Linked DNA regions of Homo sapiens: region 1 is linked to region 2. The links are contacts of gene promoters, found by promoter capture Hi-C in human tissues and cell types (Jung and others, 2019). All regions are on one chromosome and are shown on one strand. Each heading gives the region's core, a stretch centred on a gene start or on the middle of the fragment in contact. The rest is flanking DNA. Distances are from core to core; before and after follow the strand shown.

What was found. The method cuts DNA at HindIII sites, captures the fragments that hold promoters and counts their contacts. A contact is called where the count stands out against the background at its distance.
Region 1: a fragment that was not itself captured here is called in contact with the fragment with the promoter of CSNK2A3 in region 2 in 2 of the 25 tissues and cell types used here (IMR-90 fibroblasts and mesendoderm cells).

What each region holds. Positions count from the first base shown.
Region 1 is chr11:10,979,357-10,985,815 of GRCh38, forward strand. No RefSeq gene overlaps it. Among named protein-coding and RNA genes, the nearest start is that of ZBED5-AS1, 120 kb to the left of the region's middle. The HindIII fragment of the contact is 6,426 bases long and covers 1,077-6,459 here.
Region 2 is chr11:11,349,781-11,357,005 of GRCh38, forward strand. CSNK2A3 (casein kinase 2 alpha 3) reads right to left here and starts at 3,470. Exons shown (of 1, transcript NM_001256686.2): 1 at 2,162-3,470. The coding sequence starts at 3,339. The coding sequence ends at 2,164. The region is part of intron 6 of GALNT18 (polypeptide N-acetylgalactosaminyltransferase 18); the gene reads right to left. The HindIII fragment of the contact is 7,765 bases long and covers 1-4,790 here.

The sequences.
Region 1 (6,459 bases), core at 3,040-5,539, 370 kb before region 2:
TCAGGTCTGAGCCATTATAGTAAATAACTTTTTGGTTTCTCTGGACTTAATTGCCTTTTGTTCATGTGTATGTTGGCTATTTCATGTACTTATCATCAATTTGGCCCCAAACTCTCCAAAGATTGTCTAAATTTCCTTTCATTCACATCAGATATCCTTTCAATTCATCTTCTTAAAGTAGTTTTTTCCATAGCTTTCTGAACTGCTGGTTGGTTTCCCTAGTTGGTACGAAGCTATTATCCTGAGACATTCTTTCATCATCAATTTAGGGATTCCCTTTGCCTCTCTCCCCTGTGGTACTCTTATTTCTTGTATTCTATTCTTCCTCTTTTTTGGTTTAACCTCGAATTTGGGTGGAGCACATCCTCAGTAGCTTCTTGAGAAAGGGGAAGTGGGAGATACATTTTTTGAGACCTTGCCTATCTGAAAATTTATGTTTGGACTTTCACTCTTGATTGATAGTTTGGCTAAGATTTTTTAGACTACATATTTGTTATATACGACCTATTTTTTTTTCCCTCTGGAAATGTGTAGGGTCTTTGTGTTTTGAAAGTTCACAATGATGTGCTTTGGTTTGGGTATTTTTAATTATTTTGCAGGGCACTCCCTTTCAGTCTGGAAACTCATTGCCTATACATCTGGGAAGACTTTAATTGGTATTAGAGGGTCTTCTGTTTCTGGAATTCCTATTGTGGAGATATTGGAGCTACTGAATTGGCTCTTTAATTATCTTACCTTATATTCTTCCTTTTCCATCAGTCTGGGTAGTTTCCTTAGCTCCTCAGTCCTTCTGTTGAGTTTCTCATTTTCACTCTTATATTTTTAATTTCCTAGAGCTTCTCCTTGTTCTTTGAAGGTCCCACTCCCCTTTTATAGCATCCTATTCTTGTTTCATAGATATAATGTATTCTTTTAGTTCTGTGAGCATATTAAAGTTATTTTATTTTATTTTTTTTTAGACGGAGTCTAGCTCTGTCACCCAGACTGCAGTGCAGTGGCGCAATCTCGGCTCACTGCAAGCTCCGCCTCCCGGGTTCACGCCATTCTCCTGCCTCTGCCCCCGGAGTAGCTGGGACTGCAGGCGCCCGCCACCACGCCCGGCTATTTTTTTTGTATTTTTAGTAGAGACGGGGTTTCACTGTGTTAGCCAGGATGGTCTCGGACCTCGTGATCCGCCCGTCTTGGCCTCCCAAAGTGCTGGGATTGCAGGCCGTGAGCCACCGCGCCCGGCTAAAGTAATTTTTTAATGTTTTCCTTCTTGTATGGCCTGTTTCCTCCCCACTCCCGCCCCCTGTCCCATTTCTTTTGGTTTCTGTCCTTCATGCTGGAGACTTTCCTAAGCTGCTTGGTAATTCTTAGATATCTACTCATGCTTAGGAGCCGGGGACTAAAAATCTGTAGAGGATGTTTATACACCGGAAACTTTTCTGTAGGGTTATCCAGCTATGCCATTTGCTAGGGAAAACCCCAATGTCAATTTTCAAAAAATCTTTTCTCTTGAACCAGCCAGATACCTTTCATAGACCCTACCACTCTGCTGCCTGGAAGGCAAAGGCCTGGTTGCTGATGTTCTAGGAGCCCGGTGCAGGTAGCAAGATGAGAGTCTCAACACTTCATATGTGTATGTTCACTTAATTTAATGTGGTATCTTGGCCTTCAACTGGTTCTGTTGTTCTTCAGTCCAGACACCCTTTATTTTGTGCTCTACAGAGAATAAACCTCCTGTATTCTTGAGAATGGGGCAGGGTAGTCACCTGCGGGCATAGAGGCACGGAAAGAAGCTCTAATTGCTTCTTAAATAATTCTTGACCAATCTAACTTGTTTTACCTTCTCCATCCTCGGATCCAGAGGCATCAGTGCCGCTCATCTCCATGCCTATTATATTGTGTTAATTCTCAGCTTTCTCCACTGTCGGGTTAAGATTGACCGTCTACAGCTCTACCAAGTCAGTGACCATTTAACCAATTGCTTACCATTTCTCCAAATTTTGTTGTTGTGGTCTCTTCTCTATGTTCCCTGTCCTTGTTGTTCTTGTTTCTTATGAGGTTTCTGACCCTGGGTAGCTAGCTCTTGCTCTCCTGTGACTGCTTTCCCTCTTCCCACCACTGCCTGCTCTCTCGTGTCATCACAGTGAGGTCTGGGGCAGGCCATAGCACCTTCAACAACTTGGCACAGGGAGTTTTACCCAATTGCAGTGGGACTGTCTATGGAAGTGATCAAGAGCCATTTTGGGTACCAAAGCCAGCTCAGAGATTAAACAGAGGAAAAAGAGATGATTTCTGTCAACAGATTAAGAGAGGCCATCTGGGAGGAAGTGGTGTGTGAACCAGGTCCTGAGAAGACCATTCATGTTTCAGTTCAATTAAATTCAAATTCACGTGTTCTGTGAATAAGCAGGCATTGGATTGGGATAGGAAGTTGCTATAGCATAGGGATTTTAAATAGGGAGTTCCAGATAATGCCTGCATTTGAATCCTGGGTCCTTGATTACTGACTGTAATTTGTTTAGATTCTGTAATTCTCAGTTTCCCAGTTGAGAAAATGGGGGTAATAATAGTACCTTTCTCAGGGGTTATTGGGAAGATTAATTAAATGCAAGAGTGCATATAAACTAGTCAAGGAACTATAGCATAGTATATACAGACAGTGGCTCAGTATGCAGACTGTGCCAGAACACCTGGATCTGAGTCCTGGCTGTGACTTAGTAGCTCTGAGAACTTGGGCAGGTTACTTAAACTTTCTGTGCCTCAGTTTATTTATCTGTACACTGGAGATAATGTATTGTCAGGATTAAATGAGGTAAGGTGTAGAAAGAACTTAATACAATGCCTGGTGCATAGACGACAATAATACTTGTTAAAAGGAGTGTAACATGTTAGTAGGACAATCCTTGAACCAGAGTGCCTGTATAAATCCCACATCTGTCACAACCAGGTGTCCTGGGTTAAGTTCCTTGATATTTCTTTGCCTTAGTTTCCTCATCTATAAAATAAATATAATCGTACCCACTTTGCAGGGTTGTTGTGAGGATAAAATGAGTTAATACATACATAGCATGAAGTGCCTATAAGTGTTTGCTATTACTATTGCACCAGATTTAGTTGTCTTTCTTTTCTTTTCTTTTTTCCTATTCTCTTTTCCCTTTCTCTCTCTCTTTTCTTTTCTTTCTTTCCCCTCTCTCTGTTCCCTTCCTCCCTTCCTTCCTTCCTTCCCTCCCTCTTTTTTTTTTTTTTTCTGTTCCTTGTGGAGCAGGGCTAACCCACAGGCAGTGTACCAAGAGTAGCTCAGATTTAGTTGTTTTTCTTCTATTTGCTTTTTTCCTAGTGTATTCCACCAAGGGAGGATTCTTTCACAAGTGTACCTCACAGGTCATGTAGCAGGGATGTCCTGGGAACATGAATTGAACCCAGGACTGCCTGATTTCACATCTGATCACTTAAACTTATCACAGACCGCTCTATCCTGTTGCAGAAAAAGTGAGGAGAAAAAGCAACTTCTGCCAGGGTATAGACAATGGCCCTGTAAGAGGGTGTGGTTCAGCCAGGAGCTGAGTCACTCATAATCTGCTCTTCCTGCATTAAAAGGTGGTATCAGGAGGAGACCTTGGAGGCACTTCTGCCAGAGACAGGGGCTGCTGGATTCTCCAGGAGGTGATGGGAGAAGAAAGCCAGGCTCTTCTGTGGGTGTCATCTGCCAGGCCCTGGCCCTAACAGGTGTGTTGCTCGGAGCCCAGACTGATGGCAGTGAGGACAGGAGGCTGCAGACATCACTCAGTGGCCTGATAATTGGATATTTCTATAATGACAAATTACAGCTGTTTCTCTTGTCATCAGTGTGAAAACACTTCCGAGGCCGTGATTTCCCAGGAGGGTCTGTGGTTGTTATCCAGTTAAGATTATGGAAATGCTGGCATAGGGGACATGAAGCATGGCCGGATGAAGCTGTGTTTCTGCACCACTGGCTTCTGGGTATTTGGCCCTAACGTTGAATGCAGAGAGAGTATCAGGCTCCTGTCATAACACTATCACTGTTAATTCTGCATGAGTGTCATGTTGAGATGAGCTGGCCTTGTAGTTTGTTATTTGGCTTCAGCCTCTACTGTTTTTTAATTTGACCAAAAGACATTGTCAGATGTAAACATCAGTGGAAGGTCCAGCTTTTCTTTGCTTGGAAAATGCTGGAGAATTCACAGTGAAGAGTAATCTTGGAAGCTTGCTCTCCAGCCACTGGCCTGTTACCTGAGCACTGATGTTCAAACAGGGGTAAGAAAGTTCAAAGTGTCGGCTTTTCTGCTTTGTCCTCCAGGAAGTCAAACATCTGCTGTCCTCCAAAACTGAATCCTCATTGACAGAAATTCTAGAAGATAGGCTGAAGCCATCCTTGTCCTAGGGCTTGTTGGGGCTCCGAAGAAGAAAAAAAGCCCTTGGATAGAGGCAGTATCATGTTCATTTAACCTTTCCAAGTCTTGATTTCCTTATCTGCAAAATGGGGTTGTTGTGAGGATTGGTGGATAGTGCTTGACACATGGCATGGGCTTACATGTAAGTGTTAGCTATGAAGAATATGTGTTTCAGAGCTCTCAGGGTTTGAGCCCTTCTTGGCCTGCGAATCCCATGGAGATGGAGATGCAAACCTCTCACAGGAGCCAAGTCATTCTCCCGGTCTTCTGTGTTTTTCTGGGTAGATCGGCCTTCATGACCTGTCCTGGTGTCCCTGCTTTCCCCAGTCTGGCTCAGTTGCTCGCAGAGAGGACTGTCTGCCTGCAGGATCAGACCCACACAGGTGCTGAGCTCGTTCTTACTCAGGTCATCCATTCATCCAATAGTCCCAAGCACCAGTGCCAGACACCGGGTACAGAGATAAAAAGAGCAAGGCCTTTGCCCTCAAGGAGCTCACAATCTGGTGGGAGAGATGGGCATGAAAACAGATTATAGCCACATATTGTGAAAACTCTGAGGTGGACATAGAGACAAGAAGAGGCCCTGTGGCTGCAAGAACCAACAGCCTACCAAATGGCATGCTCCCCTGTCAACAGGGTGGAGCTGGAAGGCTCCTGGACTATACTTCCCAGCCCTCCTTGCAGCCAGGCATGACCTTGTGACTCATTCCCACCAATGGGATATGGGTGGGAGTGAGGTTACCACTCTGGCCAGAGATCTTAAGAAGTGGGTGTGCCTCTTCCAGTCCCTCTTACCCCTTTCATTAGCTGGATGTAGACGACCCTGAGACCCTACGGGTTATGGAGCCAAAAGACGCATCTCTAATTCCCGCATGAGGGAAAGCTGCTTGCCAACAAGGGATGCCTACTTTAGACTATCACAGAATGACAAACCTCTATTGCATCAAACCACTGAAATTTAGGAACTTTTTATCTAAGATTATCCTAATGGACACAAATGTCTAATCCAACGGGTGGCTTCAGGGAAGGATTCCAGGAGGAAGCGACACCGGGGTCTTAGCTGCTTACTGGGTCCAGGAGCTGGCAAGCAATGCGTGGGGGTAGTGATAGTGTCGAGATGAGGGGTGGGTGGAGGGAGGTGGGAGAAGCTGGGAGGATATTTTAGGCAAATGAACAAGTGAAGCATGGTGTGTGTGTGTGTGTGTGTGTGTGTGAAGGAGTGGTCTGTGTGTGTGTGCACCTGTGTGTGTGGTATGGGTGACAACAGGAAAGTTAGTATTCCTGGAGTGTCAAGGGTGGGGGCAGGAGATAGTAAATAAAGCTGCAGGAATTTGTAGGGGAACCTGTAGGACCTTGTGTGCCAAGGAGTTTTAATGACTCCTGTAGATAATAGGAGAAGCCCAATGGAATGGCTTAAAATGGACAATGTGATCAGATTGTGATTTATAATGACTGCTTTGCTGGAAGTGTGATGAATGGATTAGATAAGGTGAGTCTAGAGCTAGGGAGACCAGAGGGCAGTTATGAGGTGAGCTGAAGCCTCGTCCAGGAGAGGCACAACGGAGGCACGGCTGGGCAGTGGCAGAAAGGGCAGGAAGACTGAGTGGTTGATTGGATTGGTGGGGTGCAGAGACAGAAGCATTAAAGATGATGCCTGGGTTTGTAAAGCCATATATGATTTTTACTCATACAAGTGAATAGGAAAGGAAAAGGCAATTAAGTTTTCTGTGAAAGGAGGTGGGCATGGTGGCGTGTGCATGTAGTCCCAGCTACTCAGGAGGCTGAAGTGGGAGGATCACTTGAGCGACTCCAGCCTGGGCAACACAATGAGACCCTCATATCTAAAATAATAATAATTAATAATAATAATAATAATTCAGGATTAGGAGAACTTGCTTTAATTTTATTTTTAAAAGCTCTCCCTATGTAGCACATCCTAGCTGCCAAACAATTTTCTAAGCCCTTTACATATATTAACTCATGAATTTTAACAATAAATCCTTGAGTATCATGGGTACAATGACTAGCCTCATTTTACAGATGAGGAAATTGAGTCGCA
Region 2 (7,225 bases), core at 2,220-4,719:
TGTATTTTAGTGTAAGAGAACATTTAAAAAATCTGACAATGCTTATTCCTTTCATCAGAGCCTGCAGAAAAACACTCCCTGAGGATATGGTTTCCCAAGCCCTCTTCTTGCAATCAACACTTCCGAAGAGTCCTCTGTGTGGAATTGCTGCTTGGAAAAAAAAATGATGCTTTTTCTTGGAAGGTGTCCCTGAAGGGGTCTGAACATTTGGGTTAGCCCTAACAAACAGTTGAAGCAGTTCCTCTGTTTGAAAGGGATCCCTCATAACTATCAGAGGCAGCAGGATTCATTGGGCAGAATTCCAAGGAGAGACAAGCTGGGCTGGAATGTCTGGAAGCTTTCCATGAAGAAAAACTTAAAAGGCTGTTTTGCAGGAATCTGGGATTTGCTGAAACAGCTGCTTACCCACAGGAAACCCAGGGTCAAGTTAGAGGGGCAACAGTAATGTGTCATTCTCAGCAAACTGGCCCATCCCATACAGGGGGCCTGGCTTTTCCTTGGACCCAGTGCTCTGCCTATAATGACTGGGCCACAGGAGTTCAGGGAAGGACATTCCAGGAGGACTGCTTTGCAAATGTGTGGTCATTGAGACTAGAAGTTATCTTTAATGGTTCTGACCAAGAAGGGCTTATTCGTGGTTACCTCAAATCTCATATCAGCCAACAGGCCTGATTACTATTGTTCAAACTCAGGCCAGATGGGACTCAAGACAAGTTGGAAAAAGGAAGACGTCAGGCTCTGACATACAGGGGTTGGGAAACTGAGCCAGGAGTAGAGTGGTCTCCAAAGGTGTGGCAGAGACCCCTATTGCTCACTGACACCTGGGTGCTCCTCCATATTTCCCTGCACCCCTTGCAGTCAGGAGGGTGCAAATCGATGAGATGAGAGAGGACATGGCCTCTGCCACTTCCCGGGGAAGGCAGGTGACTATCCAGTGTGTCTCCTTAGGTGCACTTCTACTCCCCACCCCACCATCTGCTGGATGTTTAAGCCAGGGTGAACTTGAAGTTCAAAGATGCTGAACCCACAAGAGAAGCAATCAGAGTCCCCAAGTCACTACTTGGAGAAAAGCTGCACAGGAGAGCCTCCCAGCCAGCCTTCAGGGGACTGTGTGAGCAAAATAGGACATTTCCTGGGTAACCTCTATTTCCAGCAGTTCTGAGAGCTGCTGTTTCAGTCTGTGATGCTGCCAGTATGTAAAGAGGCAAGGTGACCAAAGAGGCATGGTCCCTGCAGGCACCAGTTTCCAGAGGTTCAATCTATTGTGTGGGGCTCATATGAGAAAGCTCCAGGTATAGGGACAGATGGAGTGTCTGGAAGGTGACCGCTTCCCAATTCCAGCTGATGAGTTCATTCAAAGCAGTACCCCACTAGAGGCTGAGGATGCAGGGAGCAGATCTAGCCCCAAGGGGTGAGAGAGGGAGCTGCAAGGGGCAGGCAGGACATTTGGACTCCTGCACATCGGGCTGCTGTGAGAGTTTGGTTCAAACTCAGAACCAGAGCAGAGGGCAGGAAACCAAGGGTGAAGCTAGCCAGGGTGGTAGAGGAAAGGTCCAGGTTTGAAGATGACATACAGCTCCAGGTTCCTTGGAAAGCCACAGACAGAAGCCCTGTGGCAACTCCACTTACGCAAGAGGGAGCCAGCTGGTGAGGCCAGGGCTGCAGCCAGACTCTTCCAACCCTTGTAAGGGGACACAAAATCTAGAAGGATCTGACCCTCACAGCTTCCCGATGCACAAGGCTGGGAAGGTAAGCTAGTTCAAGTCCAGGCATATCTATGGAACCAAAACCCTATAGAAGCCCCAAACTCAGAGACAGAAGTATTAGCAAGTTCCAAATCAGGGTCCCATTGACACCTGCGCTATCTACTGTAATCACTTCTTTGTTTTGAAATAGGATCTCTGGCCCCCATTACTGTCACTGGTGCTGCCAGAGAATGACAATGAGCTTAAATGTCATAGGGATTTGGGGAGCAATTTTCTTTTTTTTTTTTTTCAGCCTATTATAATTTTTTTTTATGACTGAACTACTATAAATCCACAAGCAACGGTTCAGACACGTTGCTTCTGAAGTGTTTCACCCCTCCCCGCCAGGCGCAAGCTGCATCAAGGAGGGGGTGGACTCCCCCACCTCTGCTCAGGCATCAGGAGACAGATAGGGCCGTTACTGCTGAGCGCCAGTGGCAGCTGGAACAGGCATCCCAAGGGGGTTGGCAGCAGCAATCACTGGTGAGCCTGCCAGAGGTCCAAGGGGTGAAGGAGTTGGCACTGAAGAAATCCCTGACATCACATTGGCGCTGCTGACGGGCGTACTGCCCCCTGGCATGCTAGATGAACCCATTCGAGCCTGGTCCTTCACAACAGTGTAGAAATAGGGGTGCTCCATGGCCTCTCTTGCAGTAAGCCGTGACTGGTGGTCATATCGCAGCAGTTTGTCCAGGAAATCCAAGGCCTCAGGGCTGACAAGGTGCTGATTTTCACTGTGGACAAAGCGTTCCCATCGCTTTCGAGAGTGTCTGCCCAAGATATCATTGAAACGTGGATCTAATTCAATGTTGTATTTGTCAATATAGCCATATAAATCTTCTGTCCCCAGAAACTTGGCTATCCTCACCAACTGATCATAATTGTCACGTCCATGGAAAAATGGCTCCTTCCGAAAGATCATACTTGCCAGCATACAACCCAATCTCCACATATCCAAACTATAATCGTACATCTGATAGTCTACAAGTAGCTCAGGACCTTTGAAGTATCGGGAAGCAACTCGGACATTATATTCTTGGCCAGGATGATAAAACTCAGCCAAACCCCAGTCTATTAGTCGTAGCTTTCTGTGCTCATGATCAATCATGACATTATGGGGCTTGACATCTCTGTGCATAATTCCCATGCTGTGACAATAATCCAGGGCCTTCAGAATCTCATACATGTAAAATCGAATATCATAGTCTGTTAACGTCTGGTACAATTGCTTGAAGTCTGTGTTGTTTACGTGTTCAAAAACCAAGGCGGGGGTTCGTGACACAGGGTCTTTTACAATGTCTGCCAGTGTGATGATGTTGGGACCTCCTCTCAAATTCTCCAAAATCTTTATTTCACGCTTAATTTTCTTCTTTTTTACTGGCTTGAGAATTTTAACAACAACTTTTTCATTATTTGTGATGTTGATGGCTTCAAATACTTCACTGTATTTACCTCGGCCTAATTTTCGAACCAGCTGGTAGTCATCTTGATTTCCCCATTCCACCACATGTGACTCGTAATCCCAGTATTCTCGAGGTCTGTGTGTATTAACATCTGTGTAAACTCTGGCCCTGCTTGGCACGGGTCCCGACATGTCAGACAGGTTGGCGGACAAAGCTGGACTTGATGTTTGGAGATCTGGCAGTCACTGTGTTCAGAAGCAGCTTGGGGGTAAGACCTTGTTTCAGACCTGTTTTCTTCACACTGTGGTGGAAGCGGCAGCGGCTGTGGCCGCTCTCCCTTCTGCTCACACAGACAATATGGCGGCGATGGAGTGGGGAGCAATTTTCTAAAATCCAAATAAAAACCTTCCCATCTCTAATCTGAGAGTCATTTTTATCAGCTAACTGGGCTCATCTATTTACTCAGCATATTCAGAGCCCTTTTTGGGGGTTAAGTCCCTTTCAATTGCTGTGAGGCACCGTCTCCTTGTGGACATGCTTGTGCTATCCAGCTGCTATTCAAAGCACATCTCCTGGACCATGTTTAATTTATACTTTCCTATATGAAGATGAACCACTTACTCACTTAAAGTATTTCTTTTTTTATGTCTCTAATCAGTGGCTGTTTCTTTCCTCTCTCTGAAGCTTAATCGAATCAGAAACAAATCCCACACATATGAATGGCTCATTAGCATGTCCCAGTCAGATTCAAATTGGCCGTCCATACCAGATGCCCCCAAAAGGATAACACTGGCCCAAAGAAGGACTCTTTAAACGAGTGTCCAAAGGGTGTTGCCATGATAAGCCAGGAGGGTTCTTTCTGAAATCCAGGGTAGATACACTCTGTCATTCCCAGCACCATAGAGCCAACTGATGGCAGGTAATGGATGTGTCATTGAGATGGGGTTGGTGGGAGGCAATGTGGCCAAGCCTGGGGAGCAGACATCAGAGGAATGTCTGGTGTCTATGTGTCTGGCTCAAGCATCATCCTCACACTTGGCTCAGTGGGGCCCTTTTATCAAATGATACAAATGAGGCTGAGATGCTGAACATTCTCTCGCTCAGAAATGATATTTGTTCTAAAGAGCTTCCCCTCTTAATCAAATGAAACTCAGATTATAAACACTGGTATGCTACATCTTCTCTTAAAGGATTTGCTCTTTTCATAGACATCAGAATGAATCGTCAGCATGGGCATCATCACTGGTGTCATCTCTGAAAGTCACCGATAGCAAACTCTCATTTAATACAGATTTACAAAAGAGATCAGCATACTGCAATAGAGTAGAACTGAAGGGAACCTAACCAGGACCTCCCTTCATTTCCCAGGTGAGCAAACTAAGGTTCAGGGTCACAGGATAATTTAGAAGCACAGTAAGATATGGATCCAAGAGCCTGCCTTTTGGAAGACAGGAAGTCATTATGGTTCAGAGCATAGCCTCTGGGGCCAAACAGTCTTGGTGTCAAGTCCTACATTTCCCATTTGCTGAACTGGTGACTTTAGGCAATTCACTTCACCTTCCAACACTCAGTTTCCTTGTCTATGAAATGGAGATAAAAGTGATAAATTCCAAAGATAGTTGCTGTGAGAATTAAATGAAGTAATACACAGAGACAGTTTATTTCATCACCTGGAAGAAGTTTAGAGGCCCCTAAGTATCAGCTATAATTATTATCACTATAATATTCCACTGATGATAAGATTCACTATTGCTATACCACAGCTTTTCGGGACAGGGGAAAACACACTACATTCCTCTGAGCTCAAGATTTATATACCCAAGTGCCTACGTCTCACCTTCACTCTCATGTGTCTCAGGCATCTCAACCTTACCATGTCCAAAACGAAGTTCCCGATTTTCTTCCCTGCCTCCCCATCTGTCCCTTAGTCTGCCCCTCATCCATCTAATAGCCGAAGCCTGTAACCTGTAATTCATCTGTAGCAATGTCTTCTTCCTCCCTCTCCACATCCAATACATCGGCAAAAGCAGACAGTTCTACCTCCTAAATATAGCTTGAATTTAATCACTTCTCTCCATCTGCACAGCCAACATCCTGGTCCAAGTCCCTATTATTTTTGTGTGGGCATCTCCATCCAGAGCCTCTTCCCTGGTCTTTCTGCGTTGTCGTGTTGCCCTTCAATCCGTATTGCCCTCCAATCCACTTTTTAAAATTATACATCAGAGCATGTCCCTCCTCTGCTTTAATGCAGTTCAGCAATTATTTACTGAGCACTTACTATGTGCCAGTCTTTGTTGTAGGAGATGGGAATCTTACCACAGAACAAAATATAAAAAATCCCTGACTTTCTGATACTTACACTGTGTTTTTTCTGTTACAGCACTCCCTATGGACTGAATTGTCTCCCCCTTCCTCAAATTCATATGCTGAGGCTGTAACTCCCCATGTGACTATATTGGAGATGGGGCATTTAAGGAGGTGATTAAACATGCACAAAAAATTCTCAGTAGAATGACCATATGTTCTGGTTTGCTGGGGACTATTCTGGTTTATACCTAGTGTTCCACTGTTATTAGTAGCACCCCCTTTCACTCGCAAAAGCTTCTAGTTTGGACAGTAAATTAAAATTTATTTACATATTTATTATTTATTTATATATGCCAAATGTATAAGGTCCAACCTGATTTTAGAAACACTGAAATCCCAAATAAGTATCTGTCTTAAAATCATGGTCTTACTAATCTTTTCCCTCCCCTAGTCCATGATTTCTCTATATTACTACAATCCTAGTGTGGTGAAAATTAAGCAAGTCATCAAGACCCTCACCTCCTGATGTGCAGCATTTGAAGCAGGCCTGAGGAATAAAACAGAGCACCCCACCATTCAGTGCTCCAGAGACCAGAGCCCTGTCTCTTGAACTTTCCCAAACTAGACAGACAGAAAGAGAGAGAGGCAAGACCTAAAGGAGTGAATGGTGTTCCTGGGCCATTTACACCAGGGGTTAACTCTTTATTTTCAGGACTGACTTTGTATACAGGTAGGCTTTGTTTTATAGAAAAACTTGTGTGCAGGGGTAATTTCTGGATACCAAACTTTATAGAAAAACTTGTGTGTAAGGGTAATTTCTGGATACCAGCACCTACAGCACTAGAAAAAAATGTGCTCACAGGTACCCTGCCCTTTGCATTGCTTTACAAAGCCAAGAACATTTGTATTTGGAGATGCCCCTGACCCCTCCTTCTGCAACTTCAGATTTATGAATATCGGATCTTGTCCAAGGAAAACCACAGCAGTGTCAGAGGAGGAGGAGAAGGAACCCTTGCTCAGTTTGTGGCAGTTCTTCTGAGGAAATGATTCTGGCCTTGCTTGGTGGTCTCTTCCAGGAAAACTAGAATAACAATGTAATGGTGGCCAAGAAGCTACCTTCCAGGGTCTGATACCGACCAGCATGCAGACTCAGCTAAAGAAGAACAAAGAACAAAAATGGAAACAAAAGGGAGACAGAAAATGACTCTGGGGAGCTTTAACATACATTGTGAGCTTCCAGGTTTCTTTGGCTTTTGTTTTTGCTTTTTTCCAAAATTCAGGAAATTAAACATTGATACATGACTATTATCAAATCCCCAGTCTATAATCAAAGTTCACCAATTGTCCCAATCAAAGCCTTTATAGCTATTTTTCCCCTTCATCCAAACTTTTTAAGAAGGTAAAAATTTCCTTCAGGTTGACTCCCCAAATCCTTCATCAATTGTTACCTCGTTTGTGCATGTTATTAATCTCTCTTTTATACAGCTCCCTCATTGAATGCAATTGAAAAAACCAAAGTGTGAAGACCATTCCTGAGTAAAATTGTTCTTGGGCACTCTCCTTCTGCTCCCCACCATTTCTAGCTAATCACTTCATTATGTACTTTTTAAATTGCTTTGTTCTGTAGGGATTAATTTTGCACTTATCTTCACTAACCATAAAACTTTTACAACGTACTTTTAAACTGCGTCTACTCAGCTGCTGGTTTGTAATTGCAAAGAGTCACTCCACGGCTGGCTGGTGTGCTAGGGGATAACACGCAATAGCCAC